Linked DNA regions of Homo sapiens: all the other regions are linked to region 1. Evidence: promoter capture Hi-C in 16 types of primary human blood cells and fetal thymus (Javierre and others, 2016). All regions are on one chromosome and are shown on one strand. Each heading gives the region's core, a stretch centred on a gene start or on the middle of the fragment in contact. The rest is flanking DNA. Distances are from core to core; before and after follow the strand shown. Region 1 holds the start of FBXO38 (F-box protein 38). Region 2 holds the start of RBM27 (RNA binding motif protein 27). Region 3 holds the start of LARS1 (leucyl-tRNA synthetase 1).

The links. The method cuts DNA at HindIII sites, captures the fragments that hold promoters and counts their contacts. A CHiCAGO score of 5 or more calls a contact.
Region 2: the fragment with the promoter of RBM27 here is called in contact with the fragment with the promoter of FBXO38 in region 1 in 1 of 17 cell types (naive CD8 T cells); the score reaches 5.3 in naive CD8 T cells.
Region 3: a contact is called between the fragment with the promoter of LARS1 here and the fragment with the promoter of FBXO38 in region 1, in 3 of 17 cell types (total CD4 T cells, fetal thymus and naive CD4 T cells). The highest score is 7.2, in total CD4 T cells.

Annotation. Positions count from the first base shown.
Region 1 is chr5:148,382,096-148,385,371 of GRCh38, forward strand. FBXO38 (F-box protein 38) reads left to right here and starts at 1,863. Exons shown (of 22, transcript NM_205836.3): 1 at 1,863-1,944. It overlaps FBXO38-DT (FBXO38 divergent transcript), which reads right to left and starts at 1,755. Exons shown (of 5, transcript NR_105057.1): 1 at 1,404-1,755. RefSeq lists an enhancer at 1,640-1,839. The HindIII fragment of the contact is 17,680 bases long and covers 1-3,276 here.
Region 2 is chr5:146,202,227-146,205,412 of GRCh38, forward strand. It overlaps RBM27 (RNA binding motif protein 27), which reads left to right and starts at 1,379. Exons shown (of 21, transcript NM_018989.2): 1 at 1,379-1,598. The coding sequence starts at 1,540. RBM27-POU4F3 (RBM27-POU4F3 readthrough) reads left to right here and starts at 1,379. Exons shown (of 20, transcript NM_001414499.1): 1 at 1,379-1,598. The coding sequence starts at 1,540. RefSeq lists enhancers at 815-964, 1,435-1,594. The HindIII fragment of the contact is 5,706 bases long and covers 1-3,186 here.
Region 3 is chr5:146,180,894-146,183,975 of GRCh38, forward strand. LARS1 (leucyl-tRNA synthetase 1) reads right to left here and starts at 1,757. Exons shown (of 32, transcript NM_020117.11): 1 at 1,595-1,757. The coding sequence starts at 1,600. RefSeq lists enhancers at 1,281-1,440, 2,349-3,082. The HindIII fragment of the contact is 6,101 bases long and covers 1-3,082 here.

The sequences.
Region 1 (3,276 bases), core at 613-3,112:
GACCAAAACTTCTCTTGAGTATTAGTCATCATTTTAACAAAGGGATTATCTGTTGTTTAGGTACCTAAGGAATTTCAAGGAAGAACACGGGCTGATACTAGAACTCATGGAAGAATGAAAAGAGATACTTTAGAATTTAATTAAAAAGTGGGGATTGAAAATTAAAACAACACAGCGGTTTAAGGTCATTTACTGTAGGGCAAACTTTCCTGCAGCGCTCAGGGACCCCATGATGGTGCCACTGTACAGGAGAAATACTAACTCAGGACCTTTTTAATGAAAACCTGTAACATCAAGGTACAAATAAATCCTAGAGATGAAGGGATACATATAACATGCTCTACCTGAAAATGTTAAAACTAGTTTTGATATCTTATTATATATAACACTCATAGCAGTGAGAAAATATCTTTAACATTTATTACAATGATTTGTGGTAGGAAATTTTCTAAACTTGAGGTAGGAAACCTTTCTTACTCATGAGTATTCATTTCAGGTCCCACTACAGTGCTTTTTACAAAAGGAGGAATGCTAATAAAATGAAAATCATATTCCATTGAATTAAAAATTCAGGCCAATTGTGCTGAAATAAATCTTACTGAATGCCTTCTAAATATGCCATGCCCTGCACTAGAAACTTTCGTAATTCCTATTTATTCTTCAGAATAACCTGGGAAACAGAAAAAGCTAAAGTCTGTTTCCTTTATTAAAGTTTGAATATGAAGAAACCGACAGAAGCAAATAGCATAAAAATTCATTTTTGTCTTCAATTACAGGAAGAATGTAACATGAAAGCTGAGATTACAATGAATAGTACATGAATATGATGAGGTTTTGTTTTGTTTGTCCTACCAGAGCTCCAAATAAAAACACAGATATATGGTTTGACATACGGAATGGGATAGCTAAAACTGTGACTGCCTAAGACAAGCTGAAACCTAAGGTGCCGAACCATATTGGGGAAAGAGGGGAAAAACCAGTAGGTCTGCTATCAATCAAGAAAAGAATAAGAAGAAATGGGATTCCCAAGCCTTCTTCAGCTTTTTCTTCTCCAGCAGAATAGCCTAGTCAATGCTACGTCTTGTCAAATTGTGTCTCACATGGCTTTAATGCACACTAACTTTCCTAAGAAGTATTTGTATCTATTTAAATCTAGGGATTTTAGCCCATATTAATTACATGTATATTAGGGCAAGAACACAGGATGTAAAAGGTAAAAATCTGAATTTCAGTCCATCTGCGAGACATTGTGAAAATCAATTACACTCTCTGAAGACAATTCCTTATCCATTAAACAACAGAAAAGGTGATTAAGTTGATCCTTGCCTACATGTCAGAGTCGTGTAGAGTTTTTAATGACACTCATGTGAAATTCCTTTGGACTGTAAAATACTATTACTTACGTGCAAAGATAATGTCCCGAAATCACAGAAGGGATGACTTAACATTAACATCTTTAACTGCGCCCCCGTCCTTCCTCTCAAAAAAAAAAAGTTCTCTATTTTTAGTTGAATGATTCTGGGAAAATCTCTATTGGAACCTATCGACTTCGCAAATGACAAAGGCGAGGTCCAGAGACTTATCCAAGACCCCAGAGTACCAGTGGAAATCAAGACCAAACCACACGGTGGAGACTGGTTCCGACGTATCAGACTCAGTGCTTCCGGCATGGCGCTTTAGTGTCAGGTGAAAGAACAGCAACCCGCCCCGCTTCTCCACCCCTGACAAGCCTTCCGAAATGCCACGCTGAACATGGCTGCCGCGCTTCGATGCTTCTTCACACACACAATATGGACACGGGTTTGAGGCTCCAGCCCCGGATGACAACACTCCGGAAATATGCGAGCGGCGGCGGAAGCGGAAGTGCCTCAGCGGTAGGGGCCGGGGAAGTGTCTGTAGCGTCCCTCCCTCTCAACCACAATAACAGGCGGAGGGTCGGCGTAGGTGAGGCGGCGGCTGAGTGGGCCTGGGGACCGGGAGCGGGGTGGCAAAGCCCGGAGTGCGTGCGGCAGGGCTGAGGTAGCTGGGTGGGGATTCTGGAACTTCCGACCGCTTAAGCTCGGCCTCTGGCCCCCTTGGGGCCTAGAGCTCCTTGAGAGATCAGGGGTTGAATTTGTAGTTCCTGGCCTTCTAGGCCGTGCTTGCGGGGGTTGCCTGCTTGTCTGAACCTGGCCCCAAAATCCAGCATAAAGAACTCTCTCTGGGCCCCAGTTTCCTCAATGAAATGGGTGAGGGTGTTGGACTGGACAGCTTCTGTGACTGTCTCCCACCCCGGGCGTCACGAATTTCATGATTTTAATGTTAAGTCGGTGTTTCGGCCAGTAAAGTGAAGGAGGTCTGTGTTCAGCGTAGTGAGGAGATGTCCCTGAGCAGGAAGCAGTGAACACATCTTTGGCTGCCACGCCTGAGTATCAGGAGCCCTGAATTCTAGTTTCACCCCTTCCACCTACACACCGTGTGACCTTGTCTAGGTCCATTAGCTTTTCTGTGCTGCAGTTTGCTTATCTGTGTTGGATGCCTTTGATGTCCGTGCCCTAGCTGTGGAAATCAGATTCTTAACTCCCTTTTCATGGAGTCTTTACAGACCTGAAAAGCATATTCTCCCTGCACTCTGCACACCCAGAATTTGACTAAGAGATGTCTACCGTGTTTCTTTGCAGACACCAAGCTGGCCAAGGGCAACTGGTCACTTAGGAAGGTTCCTGTGCAATGAGAAGCTCTGTCCAGAAAACTTTGTTTTATACACCTAAACCAGCAGTGTAAATCACTACAAAGTGAAAAACAGGAGACCTTGATTTTTGTTCCAAAGTTGCTATTAACTTGATGGTTTACTTTGGCCAAATCCCTTCCTCTCTCTGAACTTGAGATTTTTTTATCTGCTAAAGGAAGACGTTGGATTAGGTCACTGGTTTTTAATCCCCTTTCCCATTCCCCCAGCACAAGTGAAGGATAAAATAATAGTTCTATAAAGCCATGATTTTCCCAGGGAAGGAGGAGGTCCAGTCTGGAGGGTATGTATTACATAGGCATAGACTGAAAAAAATCCGCTTGTAATTTTTAACTTTCATTTTGAGAATTAACATTTTAGATTATCTGTAAGCCTTCTTTCCCCTCTTTAAAATATGTGATGCTGTAATTCTGATGTCCTCCTTGGGTAAAGAATGTAGAGTTTTGTGTGCCTCTTTGTTTAAATGGCTGTGTGCCCAGAGGTACACACTTTATATTTAGTCAAACAGATACTAATGCATAGCAGAGGAGAAAAAGGGACAACTAGAT
Region 2 (3,186 bases), core at 129-2,628, 2.2 Mb before region 1:
GCACCGCGCCCAGCCTGGCCTACATTTTTAAATGGAGAAAAAAATGAAAAGATAATATTTCATGGTATGTGAAAATTATATAAATTTAAAATTTTATATAATTTTAATAAATGTTTGTAATACAGCCACAATCATTCCATTTACATATTGTCCCTGGTTAATTTTAAGCCAAGACATTGTATGACGAGTAGTTGCCATAGATACCTCAAGGCTCACAAAACCAAAATATTTAGTATCTGATCCTTTGCAGAAGTTTGCCTATACCTGTTCTATGTATATATAGGATGTCTGTTTATTTGAGGTTGATCCATTTCTTTTATATGAGGTGCGTGCTCATTAGGTATTTTTCAAAATGTTATTACAATGCATAACCCCATAAACTGTTCATCATCTTAAGAGGAGAAGCTCTGTTTTGCTCAGCATTGGACTCCTAGTGCCTTACTCAGTGCTGGCAATTGCAGGGACTCAGTATATGTTATTGGGTAAACATTTTAACATCAGTGCTAAATCAGTGATTTCAAAACTCCAGAAAGAATTTCTCACCTACTAGAAAGTAAGTTGACTATTTCAGTAGTTTCTAATTTGTCTTAAAAATTTTTTTGTAATCCTTCTTTGCTGATTAAAATTCTCCCTTCCCGTCCCCCAACCACTGAATTTTAGATATACAATGAAAAGATAATTAAAAACAAACTATTGGAGTCATTTTTCTTCCTAAATAAAGCAACATTTATTAATAGTACTAGCAAAATTGAAATGGCCTCAGCCTTTTACATCCGTGCGCCACGTTTTAAAAATGACGATTACTGGATTCCAAGGCATGGTTGTCAGAAACATTCTGCGTAATTAAAGCAGAGCAGCAGAAAATACAAACGTGAGTGCCAATCAACATGAGTGTGTAAAGAAAAAAAGTAAAATTTTGCATTCTGTGCAATGTGTCGAACGTGAACGTATTGCACGTTGTGTTGCAGATTTACTACAGCTGAGTCATTTCGGGACACGAGTGTGTGTTTCCAAGAAAAACGAGAGGAAGGAACCAGGCTGAGGGGCTCGCCGGGTTCCCCCAGGCACTCCCAGCAGCAGACACCGGTATTCCGCGGCGGGCGGCGGCGTGGTCAAAAAAAGGCGCCGCTGCCCCTTTAAGAGGCAAAGCACCTTTTCCAAGATACCATCTTGCACCAGGAGTTCACTTAAGCTCTCCACCTACCTTGCTATATCTCTCCTCCCTGACTGGGTACCGCCTGCCGGCGGGGCGAGCGAGCCTTTTCATTGGTCTTGCCCTCAGGGCCCCCTCTCTCTTACTGGTTCTCAGGCCTGCCACTCGGCACTGTCTCCCGCCCACCTCAGCCTTCGGGCTAGGTTGAGTGAGGGCTCTTGGGTTAGTTCCTGTTAGGCCCCGGCCGGGGGAGTAGGTTGAAGTCTCCTAAGATGCCCGGTGGGCTGGGGCACCGGGAGCTGTGAAGGGAACGTGAGGGGGCGGCGTAGTGGAGACCCACGGCAGGCCTGAAGAAGAGCGGCGGCCGAGCCCGCCTTCCCTGCACCATGCTCATAGAGGATGTGGATGCCCTCAAGTCCTGGCTGGCCAAGTTACTGGAGCCGATGTGAGTGAGCCGGGCTGGGCCGGGGCCGGCGAACGTGGGCGTTGGGGGCTCGCGGGGGCGTGGGGGAGGGGAGGTGGCGTGGGGGGCGGCGCTGAGGGGCCGCGGCCGGGAGGTCCCGGCGACGCCTTCCCTGTAGTACTATCACCATTGTGGTGGGGGTGAGGGTGGGAGAGGAGCGCTGGGGACGGAGAGGCGCCGTGAATATGGGGACTGGGGGGGCAGGCAAGGACAGCGAAGGCTTTTCAAACGCAAATATCGGGGTGCTGGAAGGGGTAGCAGGGGCCGTGAGGGAATTTAAAACATTGCTGTTTGAGAACTGAGAGAGAGGTAACGGGGCTCTTGAGGGATTTTTAAAATGTGAATATTGAGATGTCGAAGGGAATAGCAGAATATCAAGGGTTTGATAAACATTATTATTCCGGGACTGAAAGGTCTAGAAGCAAAATATCGAGGGCATTTTCGAAATATGAGGGCAGAAGCGGATAGCAGGGACATTGAAACTGTATAGCGATTATTGGTAAGTTCTGAGGGATCAAGAATATTGAAGGATTTGAAAAATACTATGGAGTAGATGAAAAGGATGTGTGGGCATTGAAGGGTTTTAGAAATTATTGGGGAGGTGATAAGTGTGATAGCAAGGATATTAAGGGATTTTAAAGTATTATTGAGGGCTTGATAGTGCTAGGGGAACTGATGACTTTTAGATACATAGAGGTTGGAAAAAAGAGGTTTCTGTAAGTTTAGTTGAAGGTTGAAAGGGCTACACTGGTATGCAGCATTAATTGGTGGAGGAGTATACCTAACAGTATGTAGGGATTTTTAGATACAGGTGGTGTTGGAGGAATAAAAGGAGCGGTAGAAAGAATAAGAGATTTGTAAGTATTCTTGTGCCATTGAGAGGACAGTTTTGTAAATGTTTTTGTAAGATTGAGAGGACACCTGAAGATAATTGGGGTGTAGTATGAGGGACCGAAAAGAATGAGAGACCTGTCTTTTAAAAATATTTTGGGTGGTGTTAGTAGAAATGTTATTGGGAGGCTTGAAAGAGGTAACAGATGTATCAACATTTTGTTTTATAACCTTTTTTTTTTGAAACAATGTCTCGCTGTGTCTCCCAGGCTGGAGTGCAGTGGCTGGATTTCGGCTCACTGCAACCTCCGCCTCCCGGGTTCAAGCGATTCTCCTGCCTCAGCCTCCCGAGTAGCTGGAACTACCGGCGCGCGCCACCACGCCCAGCTAATTTTTGTATTTTTAGTAGAGATGGGGTTTCGCCTTGTTGGCGAGGCTGGTCTCGAACTCCTGACTTCAGGTGATCCGCTCGCCTTGGCCTCCCAAAGTGCTGGGATTACAGGCGTGCGCCACTGGACCCGGCCATGTTTGATAACCATTTTAAAGGGTAGAGTTGTGGAGTGCTTATTTGGGGGAATGGGGTATGGCTAGTTACTGGAAGGGAAAGAATCATGTTTTGCCTCCTCCTTGCTTCTGCTTTATTATTCTCTTATTGAAGGTTAGAGCTTTCTGCTTGAAAGAAAGGGGTAGAAGAAGAGATGGGCAGGCTTTGATTCATTAGGTCAGATTGCATTAGTGG
Region 3 (3,082 bases), core at 507-3,006, 2.2 Mb before region 1:
ACTGCAGGATGTTTAGAAGCATCCCTGGCTTCTACCCGGGATCCCTGCTTTTCACTTACACTGTTGCCCCTGCCTGGAAATCTCTTTCTTCCTATAGTTGCATAGGTTGCTCTCTTACCTCGTTTTTGCCACCTTTTTGGCAAAGCCTTGCTTGATCATCCTTTTAAAAATTGCAACAGGCCAGGCGCCATGGCTCACGCCTGTAATCCCAGCACTTTGGGAGGCCGAGGCGGGCAGATCACGAGGTCAGGAAATTGAGTCCATCCTGGCCAATGTGGTGAAACCCTGTCTCTACTAAAATACAAAAAATTTAACTGGGCATGGTGGCGCGCGCCTGTAGTCCCAGCTACTCGGGAAGTTGAGGCAGGGGAACCGCTTGAACCTGGGAGGAGGAGGTTGCAGTGAGCCGAGATCGCGCCGCTGCACTCCAGCCTGGCGACAGGGCAAGGCTCCGTCTCAAGAAAAAAACAAACAAACAAACAAAAAACAAAAAAAAATAAAACCAGGCGGGATGGCTCATGCCTGTAGTCCCAGCACTTTCGGAGGCTGAGACAGAAGGATCGCTTGACCCCAGGAGTTCGAAACCCTGTCTCTACTAAAAATACAAAAAATTAGCAGGGTGTAATGGAGCACGCTTGCAGTACCAGCTGTGGGGAGGCTGAGGTGTGAGGATCGCTTGAGCCCTAAGGTCCAGGCTGCAGTGAGCCATGATCACGCCACTGCATTCCAGTCTGGGTCACAGAGTGAGAACATCTCCCAAATTTAAAAAAATTTTTAAAAATTGCAACTGTACTACCCCACCGTACACTCCCTAGCACCCCTTCCTGCTCTATTTTTTCCCCACAGCATTTATCAGCACCTGACACAATATTTTACAATGTATTTTACCCACACACATAAACACTATGAAAAGAGAGATTTTTGTCTGTTTTACGGAGAGGCGCTCAATTTTTTCTTTTTTTTTTTTTTTTTTTTTTTTTTTTTTTGCTGTAAGTAGGAATCAACTTACATACTCCTCTCTCCACCTCGGCTTTATTTGTTTGTTTATTTATTTATTTTATTTTTAAGACGGAGTCTCACTCTGTCGCCCAGGCTGGAGTGCAGTGGCGCGATCCTGGCTCACAGCAGCCTCCCTCTCCCGGGTTCAAGCAATTCTCCTGCCTCAGCCTCCCGAGTAGCTGGGTTAACAGGCGCGCACCACTACGCCCGGCTAATTTATGTATTTTTGGTAGAAACGGGGTCTCACCATGTTGGCCAGGGTGGTCTCGAACTCCTGACCTCAAATGATCCACCCGCCTCGGCCTCCCAAAGTGCTGGGATTACAGCCGTGGGCCACCGTGCCCGGCTCTCCACCTCGATTTTAGAAACTCCAGAGAAATAACAAATATGATATCCAAGTACTCCGTAAAGTTAACAGACATCAGTTCGTGGTTCATAAACTAGCAAGAAAAAGCAAAGTCTCTACGAAAGGCACGCCTTAAGCGTGGCTCTCTTTTAGAAAAGGACTTTCCCTTCAGGACAGCACATGGAGAGCCCCTAGAGACTGGCCAGTCCGGCTCCAGGGCCCCTGCGGATTCTTCTCGCTCAAACTCACCGCCATTGCACCGCCCAGCCGACTGTGCAAATCCACGACAATGACCCTGGCGACCTCCACAAAGGAGTGGTTACCTTTCCCCTCCCTCTCGGGGATGCCAGGCCTCCCACGAAACTAAAGCACACGCTTCACACCTGCTGAGGCAATCATCCGGCTCCTTACTAACTACAGCCAAGGCATCTCACAGCCCGCCGGGAATTGTAGTTCCCAGACCACCCGAGCAGACACCCAGCAGGCGCTAACTGACTACAATTCCCAGAGAAAAACGGGTTATCGGAAGTCTACCCGATAGGCCCACTCAGAGGGGAACCGGCAGTGACGTCACTGGCATGTTGAACTACAAAGTCCATGATGCAGTGCGGGATCGCAGAATGCCGCGAGTGCGCCCTGGTTAGGTTGGAGTCCCTTGGCCATCAACCTTTTCACCCGGTAGAGCTGGTTGCCTGTCGGGATGCCAGGATACGCAGTTAATTACTATACGGTGACTGAGGTGCTACTTATGGCTTGCCACTATGCACAGATATTTTTTACTGTCAGTGGCATTCAACAGCCCAGCATTTAGACATTGTATAACCGCGTATTGACAATCTCCTTTTTTTTTTTTGAGACGCAGTATCGCTCTGTCGCCCAGGCTGGAGTGCAGTGGCGCGATCTTGGCTCAGTGCAACCTCGGCCTGCCGGATTCAAGCAATTCTCCTGCCTCAGGCTCCCGAGGAGCTGGGACTATGGGCGCGCGCCACCACACCGACTAATTTTTTGTATTTTTGGTAGAGACTGGGTTTCACCTTGTTAGCCAGGATGATCCCGATTTCCTGACCTCGTGATCTGCCTCCCTCGGCCTCCCAAAGTGCTAGGATTACAGGCGTGAGCTACCGTACCTAGCCAACAATCTCCTTTTTTTTTTTTTTTTTTTTTTTTTTTTTTGAGAGGGAGTTTCGTTCTGTCTCCAGGCTGGAGTGCAGTGGCGCGGTTTCGGCTCACTGCAACCTCCGCCTCCCGGGTTCAAGCGATTCTTCTGCCCCAGCCTCCTTAGTAGCTGGGACTACAGGCGCGCGCCACCGCGCCCAGCTAATTTTTGTATTTTCAGTAGAAACGGGGTTTCACCATATTGGCCAGGATGGTCTCGATCTCCTGAACTCGTGATCCGCCCGCCCCAGCCTCCCAAAGTGATGGGATTACAGGCGTGAGCCACCGTGCCCGGCCAACAATCTCCATTTTTAAGCAAGAGACTGAAAGCCTACCTGGTCCCATTGCCTGACTCAGACTATTTAGACCACTACCAAACAGGGCCAGGGGCGGTGGCCATAATCCCATTATTTTGGGATGCCGAGGTGGGCGGATGACCTGAGGTCAGGAGTTTGAGACCAGCCTGGCCAACATGGTGAAACCCCGTCTCTACTAAAAATACGAAAATTAGCTGGGTATGGTGGCGTGCACCTGTAGTCCCGGCTACTCGGGAGGCTGAGGCAGGAAAATTGCTTGAACCCA